Regions from separate parts of the Homo sapiens genome. Here regions 1, 2, 4, 5, 6 and 7 are each linked to region 3. Evidence: promoter capture Hi-C in human tissues and cell types (Jung and others, 2019). All regions are on one chromosome and are shown on one strand. Each heading gives the region's core, a stretch centred on a gene start or on the middle of the fragment in contact. The rest is flanking DNA. Distances are from core to core; before and after follow the strand shown. Region 1 overlaps IGF1R (insulin like growth factor 1 receptor). Region 2 overlaps IGF1R (insulin like growth factor 1 receptor). Region 3 holds the start of PGPEP1L (pyroglutamyl-peptidase I like). Region 4 has its middle 94 kb from the start of IGF1R. Region 5 overlaps IGF1R (insulin like growth factor 1 receptor). Region 6 has its middle 58 kb from the start of IGF1R. Region 7 overlaps IGF1R (insulin like growth factor 1 receptor).

What was found. Contacts are between HindIII fragments. The study calls those that stand out against the background at their distance.
Region 1: a fragment that was not itself captured here is called in contact with the fragment with the promoter of PGPEP1L in region 3 in 1 of the 25 tissues and cell types used here (spleen).
Region 2: a fragment that was not itself captured here is called in contact with the fragment with the promoter of PGPEP1L in region 3 in 2 of the 25 tissues and cell types used here (mesendoderm cells and spleen).
Region 4: a fragment that was not itself captured here is called in contact with the fragment with the promoter of PGPEP1L in region 3 in 4 of the 25 tissues and cell types used here (H1 embryonic stem cells, heart left ventricle, mesendoderm cells and 1 more).
Region 5: a contact is called between a fragment that was not itself captured here and the fragment with the promoter of PGPEP1L in region 3, in 1 of the 25 tissues and cell types used here (liver).
Region 6: a contact is called between a fragment that was not itself captured here and the fragment with the promoter of PGPEP1L in region 3, in 3 of the 25 tissues and cell types used here (mesenchymal stem cells, mesendoderm cells and spleen).
Region 7: a fragment that was not itself captured here is called in contact with the fragment with the promoter of PGPEP1L in region 3 in 2 of the 25 tissues and cell types used here (liver and mesenchymal stem cells).

What each region holds. Positions count from the first base shown.
Region 1 is chr15:98,684,658-98,688,096 of GRCh38, forward strand. The region is part of intron 1 of IGF1R (insulin like growth factor 1 receptor); the gene reads left to right. Among named protein-coding and RNA genes, the nearest start is that of IRAIN, 36 kb to the left of the region's middle. The HindIII fragment of the contact is 3,139 bases long and covers 1-2,884 here.
Region 2 is chr15:98,704,780-98,708,644 of GRCh38, forward strand. It overlaps IGF1R (insulin like growth factor 1 receptor), which reads left to right. Exons shown (of 21, transcript NM_000875.5): 2 at 2,783-3,328. Among named protein-coding and RNA genes, the nearest start is that of IRAIN, 56 kb to the left of the region's middle. The HindIII fragment of the contact is 3,690 bases long and covers 518-3,865 here.
Region 3 is chr15:99,006,148-99,009,832 of GRCh38, forward strand. It overlaps PGPEP1L (pyroglutamyl-peptidase I like), which reads right to left and starts at 1,645. Exons shown (of 5, transcript NM_001167902.2): 1 at 1,212-1,645. The HindIII fragment of the contact is 12,693 bases long and covers 1-3,685 here.
Region 4 is chr15:98,552,923-98,556,805 of GRCh38, forward strand. No RefSeq gene overlaps it. Among named protein-coding and RNA genes, the nearest start is that of IGF1R, 94 kb to the right of the region's middle. The HindIII fragment of the contact is 3,870 bases long and covers 213-3,883 here.
Region 5 is chr15:98,667,511-98,671,400 of GRCh38, forward strand. The region is part of intron 1 of IGF1R (insulin like growth factor 1 receptor); the gene reads left to right. Among named protein-coding and RNA genes, the nearest start is that of IRAIN, 19 kb to the left of the region's middle. RefSeq lists enhancers at 922-2,121, 1,772-2,497, 3,226-3,890. The HindIII fragment of the contact is 8,899 bases long and covers 1-3,890 here.
Region 6 is chr15:98,589,220-98,592,821 of GRCh38, forward strand. No RefSeq gene overlaps it. Among named protein-coding and RNA genes, the nearest start is that of IGF1R, 58 kb to the right of the region's middle. RefSeq lists an enhancer at 3,167-3,602. The HindIII fragment of the contact is 4,989 bases long and covers 1-3,602 here.
Region 7 is chr15:98,725,380-98,729,364 of GRCh38, forward strand. All of the region lies in intron 2 of IGF1R (insulin like growth factor 1 receptor), which reads left to right. Among named protein-coding and RNA genes, the nearest start is that of MIR4714, 57 kb to the right of the region's middle. The HindIII fragment of the contact is 7,726 bases long and covers 1-3,985 here.

The DNA of each region.
Region 1 (3,439 bases), core at 65-2,564, 320 kb before region 3:
TTTTAAATGGAGCAAAATTTGGCCACTGGGTTGCTGTGGATGAGAGAGTAGAAGGAGAAAGGCAGTCATCGGGAGACTGTGTGCTGAGAGAGCGCATGTGGGATTTGGCTTCAGGAAGTCTGGGCTTGCATTCTATCCAGCGCTAATATTTAGTGAGTGTGATTTGGGGCAAATTATTTCGTCTCCCTGAGCTTCAGAATGTTTGAAACTTTGTGAGGAGTCTGACCCCACACTGTAGGCTCCCTCCATGTATATATTTCTTCTTCCTTTTCCTTTTTTTTTTTTTTTTTTTTTTAAATTTTTGAGATAGTGTCTCGCTCTGTAACCCCAGTTGGAATGCAGTGGCATGGTCATGGCTTACTGCAGCCTCAACGTCCCAGGCTCAAGGGATCCTCCTGCCTCAGCCTCCTGAGTAGCTGGGGTCACAGATGTGTGCCATCACGCCTGGCTAATTTTTAACATTTTTTGTAGAGATGGGAGTCTCACTATGTTGCCCAGGCTGCACTCAAACTCCTGGACTCAAGCAGTCCTCTCCCTCCAGCCTCCCAAAGTTCTGGGATTACAGGCATGAGCCACCATGCCCGGCTGGAACTGTTGGCTTTGAAGAAGAATGATGCTGTGCTTGCCTTTGCAGTCCTGTCACCATACTTCCTGGAAAGTGGGTGGACACGCTGGATGGTAGATGTTGAGTTCTTTAGATGCCTGGATGCTTACATGCTTTGTGTGGGTTCTTACTGGGGCTGTAACTTACTAGAGGACAGACTCCAACTTCTGCTTACTTAGTCTGGGGAGGTTAATAATAATCTAGGGCACCCGCTTCCCAGTGGGTTTCCATCAGTCTCCTCCAGCCCACTCTACTCTCTGTTAGCCAGCTGGGCACCTCTTCCTCTGTGTCCCTTCGGTATCTTCCCAGTGGCTCTTTCCACGACTGGCTCAGACCATGTGTATATCTGCTCATTGTCTGTCCAGGGTCCCTCCAAAGATGCCTCTGTGGGCTGGGCCCCTGGTGGTGCTTCCTCCAGATAATTGTTGAAGATGGAACAGGAGTGTGCAAGAACACCAGCGTGCTTCCAGTATTCAGGTCTAGCGGCAGGTCCCAGGCATCAGCGGCTCACCACTCCACCGCAGGTAGCCTGATTGCCCAGCCTTGGAGCCGCAGCCTCCTTGGGTGGTGTGGCAGCTGTCAGTGTCTGAAACCATTTTGAACTTTAAAGGGTGGTGTCAGACAGCAGCTATTGAGGCTACTTAAAAGAATTTTTTTAAATGTACGAGTTCAGTGGCATTAAGTACATTCATATTGTTGTGCAACCATCACCACTGTCCATCTCCAGAACTTGTTCATCTTCCCAAACTGAAACTCCATGTCCATCAAACAACTCCCCATTGCCTTTTTCCCCAAGTCTTTGGCAACCGCCATTCCACTTTCTGTCTGTAAATTTGACTGTCTGGATACCTCATGTAAGTGGACTCGTACACTATTTGTCCTTTTGTGACTGGCCCATTTTATGAGCATAATGTCCTCAAGGTTCATTCAGGCTGTAGCATGTGTCCAGAATCTCCTTCCTTTTTAAGGCCCAATAATATTTAATAATATATGTATGTGTGATAACACATTTATATAATGTCCATTACCATGTGGTATATATGCTTATCCATTTGTCTGTCGATGGACACTTGAGTTGCTCCCCCGCTTTGGCTACTGTGAATAATATGACTGTGATCATGGATATGCAAATATTTCCTTAAGTCTTTCAGTTCTTTTGGGTATATACCCAGAAGTGGAATTGCTGGATCATATGGCAGTTCTATTTTTAATTTTTTGAGGAACCACTGTACTGTTTTCCATGTAGACTGCATAAGAATTCCAATTTTTCCACATCTTGCCAACGTTTATTTTTATTTATTTTTTTAAATTTTTTATAGTAGCTATCCATTCTAATGGATGTGAGGTGGTATCTCATTATGGTTTTGATGGGACTTTTGAGTTTTAGCAAATATCAATGAAGTATTTAATTTTTTTTTTTTTTCTTAGAGACAGGATCTCACATTGTTGTCCAGGCTAGAGTGCAGTGATGTGAGCATAGTTCACTGCAGCCTCAACCTCCTAGGCTCATGTGATGCTCCCACCTACGCTTCCTCAATAGATGGGACTATGTTCCTGCGCCATCACTCCTGGTGAATTTTTAAATTTTTGTAGAGATGCGGTCTTGGTACATTTTCTAGGCTGGTCTGGAAGTCCTGGCCTCAAGCAGTTCTTCCACCTGAACCTCCCAAAGTGCTGGGATTATAGGCGTGAGCCACTGCACCTGGCTTATTTAAATTTTTATGGGTATGAATTCACTTAAAAGCTGAAGGTTTTGAGAGGAGAGGGAGCATGTGAAAAAACCTAAAGGTTTTGGGAGGAGGAGGAGAAGGAAGAGAGGGAGCATGTGAACAAGAGCAACTGATTACTTCCTTGTCATTCATTTGCCCAGTGTTTACTAAGCACCTGCTGTGTCTCAGACCTGTGCTGGTTTGGCCCTTGTGAAGGACAGTAAATACAGTGCAGTTCCAGCTGCGCATGGGATCACAGTCCAGTAGGTAAACGAGTGCCTAAACTTAAGAGAAATGAGTGCAGTTGGGGTCCTGTGGCGGTGAAGGGGCGAGTCTGCACCCAGGCGAGTGTTAAAGGCCTGGCCTAGAGAAGATGGGTGTTTTGATGGAAGGAGCTGCTGGGAAGCATGTGTACTCGGTGTCTTGGAGTTTAGAAACCTCAGTTGGCTCCATGTCTCGTCCTTAGTAAAGGAATATCGGGAGCTGAGACTGGATGTATTGACACAGGTCAAATCACAGAGTCTTAGGCCATTTCAAGGAGGTTGGATTTTTCTCTGGAAGGCACAGGGAGGTTTTGAAGGACTTAATGCAGAAGAATGGGCACTGTCAGGTTTGTGGTTTGGAAAGTCCGCCTTGGTAGTAGGGTGGAGGGTGCATTATGGAGGGCTAGACCAGGGTCCAGCCCCCAGCGAGATGCTGTGTGGTAACCAGGGGAGAGAGAGGTGGTGGTGTTAGAAGCCACGACTTGGCATAGAAGCCAAAGCATCCCCAGGTTGTCATTGTGTAATTAATGGTTAAGTTGGGGCAAGAAATAAAGCTCTTAAAAGTGTCCAGCTGTAGAGCTCTCTGCCTGTTTTTATCTTCAGATTTTTGTCTTTGCCATCTCTGGCCTCCAGTGGAAGGCCGAAGTTACTTAACTTCCTTGCTGGAAGCAGGGCTCCTCATGATTGCCAGCCCCTGTTTGGTAGTGGTCCTGGAGTGCTGTGGAAATGGGATACTTGGTGCCACTTACCTTGGGGCTTTGCTCCTGAACTGCAGCGGTGTCTTGTGCTCTGTGGTTTGTAGCATGGAACAGAGGCTGATGGGCGGGGAGTTTGAGTCCCAGTGATTGAGGCCCCCTGCCTGC
Region 2 (3,865 bases), core at 1,113-3,612, 300 kb before region 3:
GAGGAACAGCGTGCTGCACAGGGAGGAAAGACGTGGGGCAGCATTGTGGGAAGAGCAACCAAGATTCTCATAGGCTTGGGAGCGGAAGCCCTGAGGTCTGTTGCTGGACTAGATATGTGAGGTGTGAGAGGAGAGAAGAATCAGGAATGACTCTTTGATTCTTAACGTGAGCAACTCAGAGAATGAGAGTGCTGCAGTTTACAAGCTTGGAAGGTGGATTATGTGGGGGGATGAGTGAGTTGTTTGACACCTCAATGGATATACTCGGATGTATACGTTAGAGCTCAAAAGAGTCTGGGCCAGTGACATGAATTTGATCATATCTAGAGTATGAGTGGCACAGGAAGCCACTTGTCTGGATGAGGTGACAGAGGAAAAGGTTGAGGATAGCAACCAACATTTAGAGGTAAGGTAGAAGGCAGAGCAGTGTGGAATCAGGGAAGCCGAGAGGAGGAGGCAATGCCAGGTGACTGGAAGGTCAAGTGACACTTCGACAGTGTCACTGAGGGCTCTGCTAGGAGCTATTCGGTGTCATAATGGGGACAGAAGCTCAGTCGGAGTGGGTTAAAGGTAACCAGGAGGTGAGGGTGCTGAGAGGTGGGACTATTGACAAGCCTTGTGTCAAGTTTTGCTATGTAGGGGCTGAAATCTAATGTATGTGACTGTGTATAAGTGACTTGACTTCCCCAAATCTGTTTCCTCACCTTTAAAATGGGTGTTTGCCAAGTGCTGGTTTCTGCTATTCTTTTCTCTGTCTTAGGGGTGTCATTTTCTCTTTGGTAAAACAGAAGAATTAGATGATATGAAGTTTCACATTCTAAGTTCTCAAGCTTTGCCCACTCCTCAGCCCTTGGGTCCCTCCACTTCCTCTTCTCTTCGCTATCTCTGCTCAGTTTCTGTCTTTGATTGTAATGTAATGCCCAGTGGGACTTTTCTTCTCTCCCTCGTCTGTTCACTTATTCCGTCCTGCACTGGGCCACCAGATTAATCCTGCAAAAGGCCTCACATGGGCTTCTCTCCCGCTCAGGAGCCTTGTGGGGGCTTTATTCCTCTGAGATGAAAGTTCTTATCCCCACATGTGATCCTTTATGACTTGGGTGCTATCAAATTCATTTCCTCAACTGCTCCCCTCTTCACCCTGACCATCAGATCTGCTGGCACATGGGCATACCTTGTTCTGCATTGTCTCTGGCCTGTGGGATATTTACCGAGCTTTAAATCCTAGGCACCCTTTGGGAGCCGGCCTGTGTGCAGAGCTCCCCTTAGCACGGTGGCACAAAGCTTGGACACCACCTCTTGTCTGTCCTGCTTAATTCCATTCACATCTAGAGTGGACTCGCTGTGTGCACACCACTGACCACCTGCCTCATGTGACAGTTGTTCCTCATGGGTCTTAGCTCTTTGCCTTCACCATGAGCCTCCTCAGAGGGCAGGGCACTGCCTGTTGGCATTTCTCGTGGTATCATACATGTTGGGTGCTTCCCAAATTAATTACATCAGTCAGAAAACTTCACTCTATCTGAGAAGCTTTAATAGTGTACTTGGGATTATTAAATCCTAAAAAAGGTTATCACAAAGAGTTTTCTTGGTGTGTGTCTGTGCTTAGAATTTAGAAAATAAGTCATCCAGTATTGAGGCCATTTTATGAAAAGCCTTTAAAATCTGCAAATGCGTTGGCCCAGCACTTCCACTTCTAGGGATTTATCCTAAGAAAATAGTCTTGGGTATCTGCCAATAATGTTCACTGGAGTGTTGTTTATAATGTGCAAAACAGGAGCTAACCTAAATGTCCAACAATAAGGGATTGGTTAAAAAAAAAAAACAACCCTCATGGTGTGTATTAATACTCTGGAACTACTGTCCCCTTAAAATGGTGATGTAGAAGGACATGTATTGACCTAGTAAAATATTAAGTGAAGGAAGTGTGTTTACAAATGTCATTTTTGTCTGATTTCACTTACCTTCATTTATAGAGAGTGGATAATTGGCATAGATAGTGTTAACATTGTTTATCGTGGAATGTTGAGATCGTTGATGATTTTTACTGGTTTTTTTTTTTTGGTTATTACCTCTAAACTCTGTAGGAAGCATGCTTTCTTGATCAATAAAACTTAAAGTTGGAGTTTATGCTGCTTTTATTCATAAAAAAATCACGTTTTTAATCTTGTTAGGTTATCCTTTATGTCTACATTAATGCACGTGTGGAGAGAACACAGTCTACTCGGCTTATGTCAAATGGTAGTGGGAAGCATGGAAGCATGCGTTTTTTAGTCCCCACTTTACAAGTCACAGTGACGGTTCTCCAGTGTAGAGTAGATTGATTGCCCTGTGTCCTTCAGGCAGGGTGCAGTAGTAAGTTATTGATACTTGGCTGCTGAGCTGTCGTTCAGGCCTTGGCAACTGACGCTCTGCAGAACGGACCAGGAGTGTGCGGTGGTGGAGTCCGGCTGGCCTGGGTTGCAGATTTAACTTTCGCCTCTGCCTCTGTGTGCCTCTGGGCTGTAAGCTTTAGTTTGCACGGTTAACGGGGATGGCCTCTCCCATGGTCGGTTGGAGTGTGTTGCACAGCGTCTGGTCCAGTGTTGGCACTGTATAAATGCCAGCTAACTGGTTAGCCACCTAAACTGTCAGTCTGCAACCCACAGCTCTGCAGTGAACAATTGAACCTCATTTCTTTAATAATAATACAGGATTCCTGAAAACCAACTGTATTATTGTTTGGAAAATAGTTTAAAAATTATTTCCTTCTAACTGAGACGTTTACCCTCTTGTCTCCCTTCAGTCTGCGGGCCAGGCATCGACATCCGCAACGACTATCAGCAGCTGAAGCGCCTGGAGAACTGCACGGTGATCGAGGGCTACCTCCACATCCTGCTCATCTCCAAGGCCGAGGACTACCGCAGCTACCGCTTCCCCAAGCTCACGGTCATTACCGAGTACTTGCTGCTGTTCCGAGTGGCTGGCCTCGAGAGCCTCGGAGACCTCTTCCCCAACCTCACGGTCATCCGCGGCTGGAAACTCTTCTACAACTACGCCCTGGTCATCTTCGAGATGACCAATCTCAAGGATATTGGGCTTTACAACCTGAGGAACATTACTCGGGGGGCCATCAGGATTGAGAAAAATGCTGACCTCTGTTACCTCTCCACTGTGGACTGGTCCCTGATCCTGGATGCGGTGTCCAATAACTACATTGTGGGGAATAAGCCCCCAAAGGAATGTGGGGACCTGTGTCCAGGGACCATGGAGGAGAAGCCGATGTGTGAGAAGACCACCATCAACAATGAGTACAACTACCGCTGCTGGACCACAAACCGCTGCCAGAAAAGTAAGAATGATGCTGACTGCTGCTTTCTCTCTGCCTCTCTCTCTCCTCTCCTCCTCCTTGACCTCCCTTCTCTTCTGAGTGCACGAGTTCCGCTGGGCAGGGTGCAGTCGTGTTGCATTTAGGACGTGGCATGCCTGCTGTGCGGAAGTGGTTCCCAGTGGGGGTCTTGGTTGGCTTTCCTTTGCATCTGGGACTCTTGGATTGCGGGACTGTGGCGTGGCTGGAGGCCATCATGGCTGCTGTCAAGACTGTTCAAATCACATGTTAGAAATAATCCAGCACACTCCTGGGCTAGACACTTGCTGACCTTCAGCTTTGAATTCCTGATGAGAAAGGTGACCTGGTGTGCTTGGAAGTCCCTGAGCCTTGGCAGCTGGGGGCTGCTTATGTGTCAGCTCTTTCATCCTTTGTGCGAAGTGATATTTTTTGTTCTGCAGGACTTCCTTAGTTTGAATGGACTTGGAATATGGTTAAATAAAGGGAAGGTAAAGCACTAACTCATATCCTGTGAAAGTGGTCCTTAGGTCCTAGTGATGA
Region 3 (3,685 bases), core at 395-2,894:
CTGTGCTCAGGTTTCCTGTTTTGAGAAACGAGGATCGCAGCACCGGATCCTGTATGGATTCTTTCTGTGCCCCAGGCACTGTCCCCAGCTTCATCAGCCCTGAGGAACAGAGGCTTGCCACCTAGCTAGCGTCTGTGCAAGCTTGCTAGCTCTGTGCTCACCACCCTGCGTTCTACCTGCGAAAAGTGCTTTCTTGACACTGTGCTGGACTCCTTAAACATGCCACTGACAGTGAGCCACAGCCGTGGCATGCCACCTGGCTCTGCAGACAGTCCTCTTTTTAATGTGTCAGAATAACTGAAAAAGGCTAACATTTGAGGCTATTTCCTCTATCGAAAAAGCTGTTTTCCAATATCTTGATCTTTCGGAGAATTCTATTTAAAAACAAAACAAACTTTTGGCCAGGTGCACTGGCTCACGCCTTTAATTTCAGCATTTTGAGAGGCCAAGGTAGGAGGATAGCCTGAGGCCAGGAGTTCAAGATCAACCTGGGCAACGTGGCAAGACTGCATCAATTATTTTTTTCAAAACGTGGTATATGCCCATAGTCCTGGCTTCTCAGGGAGGCTGAAGCGGGAGGATCACTTGAGCCGTCAGTCGTAACTGCACCTCTGCACTCCACCCTGGGTGACAGAGTGAGACCCTGTCTCTAAAAATATTCTTAAACTTTTTTTTAAACTGAAAATACTTTTTTCCTGAAGCTGTATATTAAGAGGAAGAAGACCCATGATTCTCTGTCCCCATCTAGGTCTGGGGAGGAGAAGCTCCCTTCAGGGAAGCAGGCAGAGCCTCTCAAGCACCCTGCGGCCTCTAGAGAGCTCAGTGTGACAGCAGGACCACGTGGCTCCATCTGCTGAATTGTCCTCCTGATATAAAGCGCTCCCTTTTAATTGGGATCACCCCCGCGGATTAGACCCCCCTTGGTGGCTTTCTGGGATTCTGAACCAGGAACAATTCCCTTTAATTAGCTCCTGGTGTGGGCTGCAGGCCTCTTCACTGCCAACAGGTGGGAAGCGCCATTTGCTCCCACTAGTCTCCCACTCCCTGTCCTGAGAAGCTGGGCCCACCTTGCCATGAGTGGGATGCAGAGGATTTTTGTACTTTGCCTCATTTCACAGAAGTTACCCGGTTTCTCAATATACCCCGGATGCACTTGTAGACTTGGTCTCTACCTCCTCTGGTGAGCAGCTCTCCTAGCTCCTATCACTTACCTAGTTCCGTCATGGTGTGTCCAGAATCGGCGGATTCTTGGTCTCACTGACTTCAAGAACGAAGCCGCGGACCCTGGCGGTGAGTGTTACAGTTTTTAAAGGCAGCGTGTCCCAAGTTTGTTTCTTCTGATGCTCGCATGTGTTCGGAGTTTCTTCCTTCTGGCAGATTCGTGATCTCGCTGACTTCAGGAGTGAAGCTACGGACCTTCATCATGAGTGCTACGGCTCTTAAGGTGGCGTGTTTGGAGTTATTCGTTTCTCCCGGTGGGTCCGTGATGTGGCTGGCTTTAAGAACGAAGCTGCAGACCTTCACGGTGAGCGTTACAGCTCATAAAGGCAGTGCGGACCCAAACAGTAAGCAGCAGCAACGGTTATTGCAAACAAGCAAAACAACAAAACTTCCACAGCACAGAAGGCGACTCCAGCAAGTTGCTACTGCTACCTGGGGCAGCCTGCTTTTATTCTCTTATCTGGCCCCACCCACATCCTGCTGATTGGTCCATTTTACAGAGAGCCGATTGGTCTGTTTTACAGAGAGCTGATTGGTCCGTTTTGACAGGGTGCTGATGGGTGCGTTTACAATCCTGGAGCTGGACACAAAAGTTCTCCACGTCCCCACTAGATTAGCTAGATACAGAGTGTGGACACAAAGGTTCTCCAAGTCCCCACCAGAGTAGCTAGATACAGAGCGTCGATTGGTGCATTCACAAACCCTGAGCTAGACACAGGGTGCTGATTGGTGTGTTTACAAACCTTGAGCTAGATACAGAGTGCCCATTGGTGTATTTACAATCCCTTAGTTAAACATAAAGGTTCTCCAAGTCCCTTCCAGACTCAGAAGCCCAGCTGGCTTCACCCAGTGGATCCCGCACCAGGGCCGCAGGTGGAGCTGCCTGCCAGTCCTGTGCAGTGCGCCTGCACTCCTCAGCCGTTGGGTGGTCGATGGGACTGGGTCCTGTGGAGCAGGGGGCGGCACTCGTGGGGGAGGCTCAGGCCGCGCAGGAGCCCATGACGCGGGGGAGGAGGCTCAGGTATGGCGGGCTGCAGGTCCCGAGCCATGCCCCGCACGGAGGCAGCTAAGGCCCCGCGAGAAGTCGAGCACTAACAGCTGCTGGCCCAGGTGCTAAGCCCCTCACTGCCCGTGGCCGGCGGGGCGGGCTGGCTGCTTGGAGTGCGGGGCCCGCCGAGCCCACGCCCACCCGGAACTCGCACTGGCGCGCAAGCGCGGCGTGCAGCCCCGGTTCCCGCCCGCGTCTCTCCCTCCACACCTCCCCGCAAGCTGAGGGAGCCGGCTCTGGCTTTGGCCAGCCCAGGAAGGGGCTCCCACAGTGCAGCGGCGGGCTGAAGGGCTCCTCAAGTGCCGTTAAAGTGGGAGCCCAGGCAGAGGAGCCGAGAGTGAGTGACGGCTGCGAGGCCTACCAGCATGTTGTCACCTCTCAGTGGGGGCTTGGCTTCCTCTGCACAGTTAAAGGAAGAGATTGGACCATTAAGAAATGCCCACTTCTTCTTTTTTTTTTTTTTTCAGATGTAGTCTCGCTCTGTTGCCCAGGCTGGAGTGCAGTGGCGCGATCTCGGCTCACTGCAGCCTCCGCCTCCCAGGTTCAAGCAGTTCTCTCCCTCAGCCTCCGGAGTAGCTGGGATTACAGGCACCTGCCACCAGCCCTGGCTATTTTTTGTATTTTTAGTAGAGACAGAGTTTGACCATCTTGGCCAGGCTGGTCTTGAACTCCTGACCTCGTGATCCACCTGCCTCGGCCTCCCAAAGTGCTGTGATTACAGGCGTGAGCCACCGCGCCCGTCCAGAAATGCCCACATTTGTAAAGTTGGTTGCTGCTAGGGTCCAACTCTGCTATCAACATTCACCTATGAGGTCTGGGAATGGGAACTTGTGTTTAAGGAGACTCCTTAAGTGCAAAGACTGCCCATCTTTAACCATACTACTTTTCTGATAACAAAGCTGAAATTTTCATCATTTTTTTTTTGATTTGACAGGAGCTATTATTTTAACTAAACTGGAATGTGTCCTGCAGTTTTCACTTTCCCATAATTCACTTATTTTTTTCTGTTCTAAAGTTTTCTCTAATTTTGAAATTAATAGAAAAAACAACACAAAATATTTTACTTAGTCACAGTGATATGTCTATTTTTGTATTCATTCACCTCCCCTCTCCCCACACAAGAACCCCCCAGCACATTCCTACTTTCTGGAATGAAAATAGCTCTGAGAAGTATGGATTTTGAGGTTCAACATCTGCACTTTTATTTCTTTTTCCATTGTAAAAACAAATGGTCTCTAATAATTGATGTCAAACACAGTCTTTAGGCTGATGAAATACAGTAAGCCTGAGAACGAATAAGGCAACTAAATGGAGCTGTTTTATTTAACAGAGAGCACAGTGATCTTCCTTACAAGCGGGATTCCCGAGAGGAAAATGTTTGTAATCAGATTTGACTCTAGGATTAAGAGGGCAAGG
Region 4 (3,883 bases), core at 898-3,397, 450 kb before region 3:
TCTTTGAGCCAAATGGTCTTTAAGATTTTGAATTTCTACTGTGATTCCCGTAACTCTTTGGATGATGAAACCCCAGGCATGGTTTTTAAATCCAATCAAGCATACTGAGATGTGCGTGTCTAATGTGTCTTCAGGTAGGTGGCATCTGTAACTAGGTAGAAATCTGTTTTAAATCAATATACTTACTAGTCTGCACATTTATTCTGGGTTTTTTCAAGTTGTTGTCATAGAGCAGTCACTTATTGTCTTTCATCTTCTTGATATTTTCCTTCTGGGTTGGTAAATTTTTAGCATGTCCTCAGGTACTGTAAGAGAAAGATTTTGATTTATCTAACCTTTTACAAATTCAAGAGCATGGCTCACGCTTCTTGAGATTGCAAGTGAGATTTTGATTGTTTCTCTGACAATTATTGATGTATGTAATATATCCAGACCTGTCGTTTACAGATCCCTTCTAGGAGGCGGAGTTGATATAAAATTGAAATAATTGCTCTCTTGGTGCCCTTTCAAAGTTGCAGTGAGATTGTTCCTCTTGGGTTAATGCTTGGGTGTTAAACACATTTCCTTATCTAGCAAACACACTGAGAACCCATTGTGCCAGCCCCAATTCCTGGTGCTGGGCATACAGAGGGAAGTCAGAGAAGGGCCTTTTTTGTGGGAATCTGGTGATGGTGCCAAAATATGGACAGACTTTATCCTTAATGGAGCATAATAAGAAGGGCCAGGGGCTATGGAAGCCAGAGGAGAGGGACAACTGAACTGCCTCTGGAAGGCCAGAATGGCTTCCGAGTGCAAGCAACACCTCGGCTGAGCATTACAGGAAAAACGGGAGTTAGGCAGACAGAATAGGCCAATCAGTTTAAATGGTGCTTGAGGCCAGGTGTGGTGGTGCACACCTGTAATCCCAGCACTTTGGGAGACTGAGGCAGGCAGATCACTTGAGGCCAGGAGTTCAAGACCAGCCTGGCCAACATGGTGAAACATTTGTCTCTTAAACACACACACACACACACACACACACACACACACACACACACACACACACATAAAAATTAGCCGGGTGTGGTGGCGCATGCCTGTAATCCTAGCTGTTCAGGAGGCTGAGGCATGAGAATCACTTGAACCTGGGAGGTGGAGGTTGCAGTGAGCCAAGATTGCACCACTGTACTCCAGCCTGGGCAACGGAGTAAGACTCTGTCTCAAAAAAAAAAAAGTGCTTGAAAACACTCTATGTAAGTTAAGATCTTGCTTGTTTACAAATAGCCAAGACCTAAATGAATAATTGCTGAAACAAGGTAGAAGCTCATTTCTTTCACATATAAAGACCAGACGTGATTTGAGGCTCTCTGTGCATCGGCAACATAAGGTCCTGCCATCTTGTTGCACTGCCAGGTGTGGCTCCATCTCCACATGACCTCTTGGTCTAAGATGGTTGCAGGAGCTCCAGCTGCAACAGCCTCATTCCAGGCAGCATAAACATAGAAGGGAAGGAAGAGAAGCCCTCGCCTTTTAAGGAGGCCTTTTGATGTGCCATACTTTCCTCATTGACCAAAACATATCACATTGTTCTACATAGCTGCAAGGAAGGCTAGGGTATGAGGTCTTTGACTGCATGGCAAGGTGTCCAGGTATTATAGAAGTCAGTGTCCTTACTGAAGAAGAAGGGGAACTACTGGGAAGCGACCAACTGTTTCTGCCCTAGTGATTGAGTGTGGGGAGAAGGCTGCCTGAGCAAGGGAGAGAAGGAAAGCTTATCTTGTTTCACAGAATAGATAAGTAAGTCAATTTGGTTTGCCAAGTGATAAGGCTGGGAAAATAAACAGATGCTGGGTTGTGGGAGGTCTTGTAAACTGTGCCCTGCAGGGGAGCTGAAGTTCTGTCCTCAGGACCATGGCGAGTGGTTGAAGGAGTGTTATCATTGAGGTGGAGGGAAAGGCACTGGGAGGTGAGAGCAGGCCCATCATTAGGAGGCACTCACAGTCTTTCGAAAGAAACTATGACAGCCTGAACTAGGTGGTGGAATCAGGGATAGGGAGATGTGAGCAGATTCCAGAGATATTAGAGAGGCAGAACTGGTCAGAAGTAGGTGAGATGTAGGTGATACATAGGTGTAAAGAGATTAATGATGGCAGACACCCAGGCATCTGGGTGGATGTGACACCTTCCATTGAGATAACAGGGATTCTGGAGAAGGTGGGTGGAGAAAGTGAGCGTGGTTTGGGCATTGTATCTACACATACAGATTAGGTTGACCCATTTTTTTTAGCAGCTTTGATGGGATATAATTTAGATACCATAAAATACACCCATTTTAAGTGTACAGTTGGACAAGTTTTAGTAACATACAGTTGTGCAACCCTCACCATTACCCAGTGTTGGAAGACTTCCACTGTCCCAGAAAGCTCCACTGTGCCCATTTGCAGCCAAGTTCCTCCCACCCTGAGCTCCAAGGAGTCACTGATTTCATTTCTGTCAGATCCACCTTTTAAAGTGTAAATTCAATAAAATGATGAGTGCAGTGATTCTCTGATGGGGAAGGTGTGGGGGGTTGTGGAGAGTCATGATCCCCCAGGACAGTGTACAAGAATCATCCAGGAGGCTTTGTCAGACTGCATATCTGTCCCACGCCCCCTCAAGAGTTGAGTTCCCTTCATCTCCCCCACCCTGCAGAGTAAGCCATTGTTAGAGTCCTGAATAAGAAGTATTCAAGTTTGCTGGCCTGGCACAGTGGCTCACACCTGTAATCTCAGCACTTTGGGAGGCCGGGGCAGGTGGATCACTTGAGATCAGGAGTTCAGACCAGCCTGGCTAACATGGTGAAACCCCATCTCTACTAAAAATACAAAAATTAGCCGAACATGGTGGCAGGCACCTGTAATCCCAGCTACTCGGGAGGCTGAGGAAGGAGAATTGCTTGAACGTGGGAAGCAGAGGTTGCAGTGAGCCAAGATCGTGCCACTGCACTCCAGCCTGGGCGACAGAGCAAGACTCTGTCTGAGGGGAAAAAAAAAAAAAAGGTATTCTTCAAGTTTGTTGGGGCAGACGATGGAGAACCTATAAGCGTGTGTTTTTGTTTTTTGTTTTTTGTTTTGAGACGGAGTCTCGCTCTTGTCGCCCAGGTTGGAGTGTAATGGCACGATCTCGGCTCACCACAACTTCTGCCACCCAGGTTCAAGCGATTCTCCTGCCTCAGGCTCCCGAGTAGCTGGGATTACAGGCATGTGCTATCATGCCCGGCTAATTTTTGTAATTTATTTTTTTTTATTTAATTTTTTTATTTTTATTTTTTAGTGGAGATGGGGTTTCTCCATGTTGGTCAGGCTGGTCTCAAACTCCCGACCTCAGGTGATCCGCCTGCCTCAGCCTCCCAAAGTGCTGGGATTACAGTCTTGAGCCACCACGCCCGGTCGTGTGTTGGTTTTTAATAACTAGCTTGATAGATATTTTGTTTTACTCTGTTGTTTTCAACTAGACATTGACACTCATAGAATAGAGCTCAGATTTCTGTTATGTCCCAAATACCAGATGAGATGGTGCTCAAAAGCACACACTGTATGACATGGCACTTTTTGAGGAAGTCTCCTTGATTCCCCGCAGAAAGTATCTCCATATTACCAATTGCACTCCTTGAATGAAGTTTTTCAAATGCAATTCAGCAATTTACAAATCCAAAGGGTGCCCCAGCCTCACTTGATACTATAACCATCTTTTTTGGCTGTGACTAATTCCACATGTAAACACAGATGGAGGATTCTTTTTTAGTGGCAATGCAACTCTGTTGAGTGGTTTGAGGACACACTGGTTTGAATGTCCCTGGTTTTCTTCAGGAAGACTGTTCCATCAGGGACACCTTTTCTTAGTACTTGACTTTGAACTAATTACA
Region 5 (3,890 bases), core at 520-3,019, 340 kb before region 3:
GCACGCATGCTGTGTGTCGAAGGCCAGGTCCGCCTGTCTGCCTCTCCAGCAGATACTCTCTGGGGCTATTTTTTTCTGCTTGGTTGTCATCCTTTGGTTTAACCAGGCGCCAGGGCTCAGGCCTGGACCTGCTGGATTCCAAAGAAGACTTCGAGGTGGCCGAGCTTGTCTGGCTTCCAGAGGAGCTTTCTCTGTCCCGCCCGGGGGAGTGGCTCACCTTGGTCTGAGACCAATGGGAGGAAGCCTGCTGCGGGCAACTGGTCTGTGCCTGGAAGTTGGACTTGCATTTTCTCTGGACCTCCAAAGCAAACCCGAATGACCACTCTCATCCTCCCCTTTTGCTTGTTTGTGTATGTGCTTGTTTTGCCTGGTCGTCAGGCAGGAGGTGGTGTCAGATGATGAGAGGTGTTGCTCGTCCCTGGGTTGGTTCTCTTACGGGGCTGTATGGATGTCTTAGCTCAGACTGCTGTGACAGGTTACTATAGACTGAGGGCTAAAACCACAGACTTATGTTTCTCACAGTTCTGGAGGCTGGAAGTCTGAGATCAAGGTGCCGACCAAATTTGGTTTCTGTTAAGGGTCCATTTCTTGGCTTGCAGATGACAAATGTCATGTGTCCTCACAGGGTGGAGAGAGCAAGGGGCTCTGGTCTCTTCCTCTTTATGTAAGGGCATTGTTGCCATTATGGGGGCTCTACCCTCAGGACCTCATCTAAACCTGATTACCTCCCTAAGGCCCCACCTTCAGATACCACTGAAGGTATCTGGGGGTTGGGGCTTCAGTATATGAATTGGAGGGGACACAGTCATGCAGTTCAGAACAGTGGAGCAGTGTGCCATAGTGAAGGGATCTCCAGACCAGGATTCTCTATGGAAGTTCTTGGCCAGGTCTGAGAGTTGGTTACAGATCATTAAAATTTACATGGAATCCAGTACTTGAAAGTACATGTCTTCAGGATGGCGCTGAGCACATTCGCCTCTGTAACCAAATGCCTGAAATGTGTAGTGCACCTTCTGAGCACCCCAGTGCTTTCCTTAAAGTGAATGCAGTTTGAGAGGAACTCAATTATTGAGAAATTTTATATGACCCCATTTCTCTCATTTTAGGACAGATAAGTTGCTTATTTTAAACTCTGCAGGAGCTACATAGAGGAAGTTATACTCCAGGAGAGCTTAAATTTCACTCTCTGAAAACTCTGTTCCATGTAAGTACATTCCTCCTCTCTCCCCTCCTCAGTGAGCACGTACCCATCAGATGTGTGGAATTCTATTAAAAGCAGCTCCTCGTGACCCTCCAGGGTCTGTTTTGTAAAGCTGACACCAGCATCAGTGAGTTGGAAGGGGCTGCCACAGAAGACAGACTTACTGCTGCAGCCCGCTTCAGAGCCCTCAGTAGTACTTTTTCCTCTCCCAGCAAATCCAGGAGGCTGGGAAGGTGATTGTTAATTGTTTATGAGCATTAACTGTTTACCAGTCATACTTACTATTTTAAATCTGACCCTGCCATTATGTTGTTTTGTTTCTGTTCACAGCTGAGCTTTAAGCTGGGTAGAATTTCGTGATGAGTCACTCCTATGACTGTAAAATCAGTATCGATCAAGCCTTCCTGTTCATCCTGTGAGCAGTTTAGAGACAGATGAGACAGGCTTATGGTTTCCACTGGCTCGGCTCCGTGCGTGTGCGGATTGGGCTTCCTGAGAGCCTGGTTAGCCCCTTTTATCTGCTCTCTGAAACCTGCGCAAGGGTGTTTAGCATGCACCTTGAAACCTCTGCTGCCTGAAGACAGTGTGCTTAAATGAAGGGTATACAAACCCATGTGAGGTTTTCTCTTCCCTTTTCCATGAACTCCACCCCAATTACCTGTTTGAATTTTGCATGCCAGTTATTTTCAGGGAACTAGTGACCCTTTTCTTGCCACCCTGGGCTTTGAATTGAAGGCCAGTGTGCCACCTTTTCTTTGGCTTTGTTAGAACGTTGCCCTCAGGGTCATATGTGCTGGCTGCTATGAATTCTTACTGCTTGATGGACAGAGAAAGGTGAGGGTTAGATATCTGGACAGGGCATGACAGGGCGGGTCATCGAGTAGGAACATTGGGACCTTTTGCTTCCAGGCTTGAGCAGTGGGTGAGAAACACTGTCTTCCCATTAGGGCAGTGGGTGAAACACTGACTTCCCTCCATCCTCTGGGCAGCCTTGTCAGGTGGGTGTGGAAGCTGAGGTGTGTCTGCCCCAGGCTGTGCAGTCAGCCCCGTGTTCTAGCTTCCCGTGCCGAACCTGGCCCTGGAGGCTGTCTGCCTGGCAAGGGGGCTGCACAAAGCTCGGAGGGGCATTTCTGGTGCTTGGTAGATGGTAGGCCTGCCCCCAGTGCACTGATAAGAGCATGGGCTGAGAGTGCCACTTGGATTCGGCTACAGTGGGCGGCAGAGTGGGGGTGACTGGTGTTGCTTTTACTCTAGAGCAGAGGAGGCAGATGAGGTAGATCGGGGCCCCAGGGATGCTGAGCTGAGCTGGGTAGAGAGAATTTGGTTTTGTAGGATTTGGAGACAGAGACAAATTTGGAGTGTTTGGATGTTCGGGGACCTGCAGGAGGTATGTGAGGTGTGTAAAATGCAGCCCCTGTTTTAAAAAGAGCTTACATTGTCTCTTGAGAAGATAAGGTGTGCCCAGCTGTGGAATGGAACCAGATGCTTTTATGAGTGAGGATGGAGTGAGCACACTGGGAAAGAGCCCTGGAATTGGAGGAAGAGATCATTTTGCCCAGAGGGATCTTGGAGGTCTCCTGGAGGAGGGTACTTAGATGATCAGAAGGATTATACTAGACTTGATGGGGTGGTCTTGGCATCAGAACTTTAAAAATGTATTTTGGGGCTGGAAGCAAGGCTGGAGAGGAAGGTTTGTTTAAGTTGTAGTGGGGGATGAGGCTGGGGGCAAATCAGGGATGGTTTTCCAGGTCTGTAAAGGCTGGGGTAAGAGGAATGGTTGGTTCTTAAGAGCAAAAAAAATCCCTTACATATTGGTTCTCTTATTTGTGCTAAGTTAAATACATGGGAGGCTACTGGTGTTTATGAAATAACCCTGAGCCTTTTTGGGGAGGTAGTAGTGGATGTCTGATGGAAGAGATAGAAGACTGGTCCCAGGGGTTCTTAGTGGCACCTTCCTCTCAGGTCATCACTGTGCTTTTGCACATTGCAGTTATATTTGACTACATTTGATTATGGCAGATTTACTTAGAAGGGCACTGGAAAAAAGCCTCCCAAATTACAACTGACACAGGAAATGACTTTATTTTCTTCTATTTTTTTTCTTTGCTTTTCTCCCCCAATCAACATACATTTTTAAACCTGTCATCTCACATGACCTGCCGGTAGAATTGATATGTTTAATTTCTGTAGAAAATAACTGGAAATATTTCACAAGCTCCAGTAGCTTCCTGTTGTAGGGACCCTTAGGACTTTGGAATGAGAAGTTTTCTATTGAGTTGTCATATTTGGAAGGATAAAGGTGCCCTCTTTTCCCTCGATCCACATAGTAGACTCCTGTGTGCGGGCATTTGTTTGGTGTCTCACGTTGATGCAAATGCAGCCATTGCAGAGTGAGCCCCGCTCTGTTACTGGATCTCCATTTGCTCAAAAGAGAGCAGTGTCCCCCTCCAAATCTGCATGTCTGAAAGCATTCATGCAGGTTCATTGCATGGGTCTTTGCATTTTACTTAGACTTAGCAAAAATCAGGTATAGTCTTTCCTGAAAACAAAAGTGACCATTGTTTTTAATCAACTGCAGGGTGTTTGGAGTTGTGAAATATTTAGGGTCCCGAGTCCATTCCAGATTCAACATTGGGAAAGAATGAGAAAGCTGAAGCCTGGGGCAGGCTCTGTCTGCAGAAACCATGGG
Region 6 (3,602 bases), core at 1,054-3,553, 420 kb before region 3:
GAGATCGCGCCACTGCACTCCAGCTTGTGTGACAGAGAGAAACTCTGTCTCAAAAAAAAGAAAAAAGCATCAGGAGATTTCAAAAATACGTTTGATTTTTAAAATTCAGCATATTTTACTCTTAAAAGTTGTATTTTAGGGTGAATGGTTAAGCAAACAATGGTATATTCACATGTTAGAATAATATTTAGCAATAAAGATGAAGGAAGTAATGATACCTGCAATGACTTGGATGAATCTCAAGGAAATTATGCTGAGTGAAAAAGCCAATCCCCAAAGGTCATATTCTATAGGATTCTATTTCCATATCATTCTTGAAATGACAAAATTATAGAAATGGAGAACAGATTGGTGATTGCCAGAAGTAAAGGAGGAAGGGAAGGGTGGGAGAGAAGTCGGGGAGGCTGTAAAAGAACAGTGATGGATGATGGAGCTGAGGTGCTAAAATCTCATACCTACACATAGGATCAAACTGTAGAGAGCTAAATACACACGCAAGTGAGTACAAGTAACAAGGGGGAAATCTGAACAATATCTTGGATTGCATCAATGTTAATAATTTCATTGTGATATTTTATTACAATTTTGCAAGAGGTTACCACTGGAGAAAAGAGTAAAGTGTACATGGGGTTTCTCAGTATTAGTTCTTACAATTGCATATGAATCTACAATTTTTTCAAAACAAAAAGTTTAAATTTTAAAAAGTCACATTGTTTTGGGATTATACCTTCTAACTTGAGTTAAAACAACATCTTACCTCTCAGAAGATGAATATAAGATATATATGGCTGGGAAACAGCAAAAAATGCTCACTTAAAATATTCAAGTGGGCTGGACATGGTGGCTCATGCCTCTAATCCCAGCACTTTGGGAGGTCGAGGCGGGTGGATCACTTGAGGTCAGGAGTTTGAGACCAGCCTGGCCAACATGGTGAAACCGTCTCCACTAAAAATACAAAAATTAGCCGAGCATGGTGACAGGCATCTATAACCCCAGCTACTTGGGAGGCTGAGGCAGGAGAATCGCTTGAACCCAGGAGGGAGAAGTTGCAGTGAGCCGAGATCATGCCATTGTGCTCTAGCCTGGGTGACAGAGCAAGACTCCATCTCGAATAAATAAAAAATGAAAAAGTAAAATATTCAAGTGAATATCATCCCCACTGGTCCTGTATCTTTCAGGGATCCTAATGACATATTTAATGGAGCTGAAGGGTCCTTTCACCCTTGGAACAACCCAAATGCTTCTGAACAGTTGGAAGCTCCAGGTATGGCCCTGCTTCTCCTGGTCTCAGTAGATGTTCAGAGAAGCTCTTTCAGATTCTCTAGAACAAAATTCTGATCTTGTTACCACATATAAAAGCATCAAGCTTCAAAAAGCACATGTTGTCTAAAACATTTTTCTCCTTCTGTATAGACTTCCCTCTTTCCTCAGCTGGTATTGTGTTTAGATTTTTTTTTCCTGAGACAGGGTCTTACTCTGTGGCCCAGGCTGGGGTGCAGTGGTGTGACCAATAGCTCACGACACCCTCAAACTCCCTGGCTCAAGTGGTCCTCCTCTCTCGGCCTCATGAGTAGCTGGGACTACAGGCGTGTGCCACCACACTGACTAATTGTTTAATTTTTTGTAGAAACAGAGTGTTGCTATGTTGCTATGTTTCCTAGGCTGATCTTGAACTCCTGGCCTCAAGAGATCCTCTCACCTCTGCCTCCCAAATTGCTGGGATTACAGGCAGGAACCACCACACCCAGCCACTGTGCTTACATAGAACCAGAAGAAAAGCTCCCCCCTTCCAAGTGTGTATTTTCCCAATCCTTGGGGTTTTATATGTATAGGAAGCTTGCATTCTAGCTTCATGTCCTCATTCATTGTGGCCGCCAGAGGCTGTGTGCCTCCACACCCACCTTGGGTTTCTCTTGCTTCTTCCTTTTTTCCCAAGCCATGGAATAGGTCCAAGAAAACCATTGTCTGGAAAAGCTCAGAGCTGCCCCCTGTTGCGGAGCCCTCAGATCCTCCTTGCTAAGCTTTACAACTACGTTGTGATTCTCCAAACCAGTGGGTCTTTCTGGGGAAGCTGTTAACAACTGCTCTAGAAGGAAATAACTCTTACTGTTTCTAAAGTCAAATATTTTAGCCATTAACACACGGAAGAGTTCTCCTGATTCAACCCTTTCTGTCTCAGAACCTGTCCAACTCTTGGCCCTGGTTTGGTTTTTGCTGTCACTTACCCCTGTTCTTTTCTGCTTTCTCCTGTGTTTGTCTCCCAGAAAGCACGCCTGTATCTTTTCCCCTTCAAGTCTGTCTAGCCCACATATCTCCTGAGCCACGAACCCAACAGGTCCCTCCAAGAGGATGCCACTTTCTCTCTCTCGTCATAGATGAAGCCCAGGAAACAGGACTGCCTTTTGCTGTTGTTGTAGGGGGTGAAGCCCTGAAGGAAAGAATTGCCACGATCCTTGCGGAGGAGTTGACACGGGAAATGTTAACGTTCTTATCTGTTTGGAGGAGGCACCGTGTACTCCTTGACAGCAATGCTTAATAGATTGTCTCCCAATAAAGCCAGGGTGAAACAGGATTTACTAATTTCAGGGTGACCATAGTATATGTTATGTAAAATAGTTTTGAAACACTCCCTTCTTTGGTTTGCCTGCAATGATAGTCTTGAAACATTTTTAAAAAATGAATGAGAAACCTTCTTGATGCTAAATACAATGAGGTGGGGAAGGCTCGTGCTCCGCTCTCCAGGCGGTTCCCATACAGCCCTGCCTGGAGGGAAGGTGTGAAGATGCCCACCGTTCTCTAGGCTCTGTCACCTGCCTGCACATTTGCAGGTCGCATGGTTCCCTCAGAAAGATGACAGTCAACATGAGCCACCCGGAGGTGACAGACACACCATAGTAGGGAACAGGTTAGGCCACCCGCCTCAATTTGGTTTAAAAGACTTCCTTCTCTCCCTGTGTCCCACCCCCCCCGCCCCATCTATGGTCCACCTTGTGGCAAGCTAGCGAGGCAGATGTAGAGAGCCCCAGGTGAGACGAGCAAGGCAGCGGAGGAGCTGCCTCAAGAGCCAGCTGATGCCAGCATCCCCGCTCTACACGGCACTAGCTCAAGTCTGCAAGGCCAGTCCCGCTCACCTGACCGACCACGGCCCGCTCCGCCTCCACAAGCCCCTCCTTAAAGGCTGTCTGACTTGGTCACTCCATTTCCCCACCTCCACTCTCCCTGCCAGCCCCTTGAGCTTCATGAGAAAGGGTTGGACAGTTGAAAGTTCTATTTGATTTCCCAGCTCTGTTTTTAGCTTTTCTATGCCCACATTGTAAAAGAAACAACAACAGGGCTGGGTGCAGTGGCTCACGCCTGTAATCCCAGCACTTTGGGAGGCCGAGGCAGGCAGATCACGAGGTCAGGAGTTTGAGACCTGCCTGGCCAACATGGTGAAACCCCGTCTCTACTAAAAATACAAAAATTAGCCGGGTGTGGTGGCGGGTGCCTGTAATCCCAGCTACTTGGGAGGCTGAGGCAGGAGAATTGCTTGAAACTGGGAGGCAGGCGTTGCAGTGAGCTGAGATCGCGCCACTGCACTCCAGCCTGGGTGATAAGAGTGA
Region 7 (3,985 bases), core at 843-3,342, 280 kb before region 3:
GGCATCTTTTTTTTCCCCTAATCTGTGGTTAGAACTCTCAGAAACTTTTAGAAGATCCCTCCTATGTTTTGGAGGTTTGCAGATTTGAACCCCAGTTCCTCCCACAGTGCTTCTCCAACTCCTGGAATGAGGTAAACCTCCAGGCAGCCTGTTGACCCAACCCATGCATGCCGGTCTTTGGGACTCCTAGATGTGGACCCTGGAGTGAATAGGGATCAGGTGGGAAATGAGTTCCTTTGATCAAGATCCTTGTACCAGTGAACTGACCCCACTCCCCGTCTGGATTCCTGTGGTGATTACCCTCTGTATTAGTCTGTTTTCATGCTGCTGATAAAGACGTACCCAAGACTGTGAAGAAAAAGAGGTTTTAATTGGACTTACAATTCCACATGGCTGGGGAGGCCTCAGAATCATGGCAGGAGGCAAAAGGTACTTCTTACATGGTGGCAGCAAGAGAAAATGTGGAAGAAGCAAAAGTGGAAACCCTGATAAACCCATCAGATCTCGTCAGACTTATTCACTATCATGAGAATAGCACGGGAAAGACCAGCCCTCATGATTCAATTACCTCACCTGGGTCCTTCCCATAACACATGAAAATTCTGGGAGACACAATTCAAGTTGAGATTTGGGCGGGGACACAGCCAAATCATATCACCCTCTTAGCAAGGACTGTGTTCGTGATCATGACTGGCATTCACTGAACAATGACTAGGTGCCAGGCACCTCGCCAGTATTCTTTAATCTTTGCACAGTCTGTAGGGTGGATATGGATATTACTGTTCCATTTTTTGTGGAAGAGGAAATGGAGGCAAGAGACCTGATTATAACTTGTGCAAGGTGCCATGCAGCTAAGCAGCCAGCCCAAATCCAGACCTGCTTTCCTATGATTTTCCTGCCCATTACTCTCCCATCGTAGCTCACCTAATACTTCCTAGTGGGCTGCTGCTGAACACACACCCAGGGATGACTTAGTGGCTTGTCTTGCTCTGAAGAAGGCTAGGCACCATGTTGGATGAGTTCTTGAAGATGTCTTGCTCTAGTCAAGAAACTTTTAAATCTTTGGAGTTTTTGTCCACATCTGCCTAGTTCTTAGTAAACATGATGTGGGTTCTATTAGCATGGCGCCCTCCCTCCCTTCCTACCACCTTTATATGAGCGGAGAACATCTATGACTCTTATGAGAAAGGAAAGATGAAAATCAGAGTGACATAGTATAGTTAAATTGCAGATGCTTAATTATAAAACAGCTTGTTTCTGAATTTTAATTCCTTGCTTTTCTCTGACTTTTTAAATTCCCCTCCTTAGGCAGAATTCATTTTTACATTGATGATTTTTTTTTTTTTTTTTTTTTTTTGAGATAGAGTCTTGCTCTTGTCACCCCGGCTGGAGTGCAATGGTGTGATCTTGGCTCACTGCAACTTCCGCCTCCCGGGTTCAGGCAATTCTCCTGCCTCAGCCTCCTGAGTAGCTGGGATTACAGGCATCTGTCACCATGCCCGGCTAATTTTTTGTATTTTTAGTAGAGATGGGGTTTCACCATGTTGGCCAGGCAGGTCTCGAACTCCTGACCTCAGGTGATCCACCCACCTTGGCCTCCCAAAGTGCTGGGATTCTAGGTGTGAGCCGCCACACCTGGCCTGATGAATTATTTTCATGTGTGGAACAAAACTTTGATGCTGATCAGTGATTAGGTACCTTTGTTTGGTTCATTTTTAACTAAGGAGATTTCTTTCTTTTTAAAACCATTCTTTAATCTTGTAAAAATATCATTTAATGGGTGGATGTTTTAGCTGTGATGAATGACAGGTTGTCGTAAAGGAAGAAAGGTATGTGGTTTCCAGTAAACTTTTAATTCTTTTGCAAAATAAAAATAACAGTCGTACAGAGAGTAAAATATATGAAGAGTCAGGAAGTGATTTATCAAAATCAGATCTTGGACTGCTGGTTTTACCATGAATTAGGCTCTTGGAAAGTGATTGGGCCAGTGTAGGTTTACATTTTTTTTTTCTTGTTTTATTTGTCAAAGCAAACTTGTGGTTGCCTGCCCGTAGTTTAATTCTGCCTCCTTTGGGCAAACAACCGACTTTTACTGGGAGTCTTTCTCAGGGAGATAAAGGTGCACCCTGAAACTCTGCTCTCTGATTCCTCAGCAAAGTCAGTCCTGAGTATGGGGCTTGGGTGTCTCTGCAAGGCCTTGCAAGTGAGATGGGCTGTCACCTGAGCTCAGGTGGGGCTGCTCCTGCCTTGGACAGCCTCCCCAGCTTCTCCTGCATTATACCCAGGGGCTGGAGGGCAGAGAGCAGGTCTTCTTCTGCTGGTCGGGGCAGTCACAGGCTTTCCTCTCGGCCTGCTTGTCCTCCGGGTGGGTCCAGCACCCGCTGGGATTCCTGTGGGCTTAGTCACTGTGTGGCGGCGGCAGAAGGACTGGGGAAACCGCCGGCCGGCCCTGGTGCGCTGTCACCCCGAAGGAATGCGGGCCAGGCCGGGGCTGCTGGGCCTGGAAAGTTCTCCAGTCCCTGTTGCAGATCTGGCCTGCCGACTCAAAGTAAATCTCTCTTCCCCTTTATTTCCCATCAAATAAAAAAGGAACACGAGGTAGCCACTGTACTCACTGAAGATGCATTGTTTTTTTTTTTTTTTTTTTTTTAAGCGAGCAGCAGCAAGATTTATTGTGAAGAGTGAAAGAACAAAGCTTCCACAGCATGGAAAGGGACCCAAGCGGGTTGCCCTGAAGATGCATTTTTTAACTTGCTTTTTAACTAAGTATTTTTGCTCTGAGCTTTCCTGGATCTGTAAACACACCCCCAGCTATTCAAGATGGGCTTCTTGGTGAAAAGTGATGTGTCCTAGGAGAAATCACGCCTGTTGTTGCCGCTGGCCATCACAGATCCCGGTGCCTGTCTGTGAAAGGCTGGCCGGGCTGGGTGGGGATGAGAATGGTCGGGTTGTCTAGACTCAGCCTGGACTGTCTTTGACTGGAGGGGCCTGAGCTCCTCCTCCACTGCTCAAGACCCCGGTTAAGGGGACAGCAGAGCAGGGATGAGAAGTGGCCCTCTTCACATCACCTCCCAGCAAGAGGGCCTGACTTAGTGCTCCCACCATTGCCAGCCCCAGTTTCAGGGTCCCACTCAGTTGTATTTGAATAGGTCTCATGACATGTGCTTTGCTTGAAGAGCGGCTATTAGCAGCAGACGTTCAAGAGGCTGAGCTCAAGCAGGTGAGCATGTTCTGAGCCATTGTGAACCCAGTGAGGTGCCTATGCTGATGCCCAGGGCCGCCTGGGCGGGGTCAGGCCCCCATCGCTTCTTCATCCTAGCTCTGGGAGTGCATTCTGCACTCTCCCGAGGCCAGCTGGTGGCCTTTGGTGATCACCCTCTCTGTAAGTTTTTAAGTGGCTTCCTTTCCTCTGGTGGAGAAGCCAGCACCTTTATCCTATGACAAGAAAGCTCTTTGTAGTAGGTGGTAGTAGAATCAGACAGATCTGGCTTAAAATCTTGGCTGTGCTACCTCTTGGCTCTGCACATTGGTGAAGAGAATTTACCTTCCTAAGGCCTCTCAGCTACACGACTGTGGACACTCAGCTTCCTTCTAAGGTCGTTGTGAGAGGTAAAGAAAAGGGGTTAGTCCAGGGCCAGACATGGCACAATGCCTCAATGAAATATTAGCTGATACTATCATAATTTTTAAATTCCCATAGGACTCACTGTTAAAGGATTACAAGGCTGACACAAAAAATACTGCATTTTGAATTTGTGTCTGATTTATACATTTCCAAAGAGTGGAATTCTCACTACAACAGCTGTTCTTTGAAAGGTTAGATCTTTGTTCTGAGATAAATTAAGTGGAAAAAGGTGTAGAGCATTATATGTACTCTGATTCTTCAGGGCTTAATTTAAAAAGAGCATGTTTGCTGGTGAATGCTGGTTCAATCATTAAGAAGTTTTTGAGAAGGAATCCCAGAAAGTAATAAGCACTTATTTTT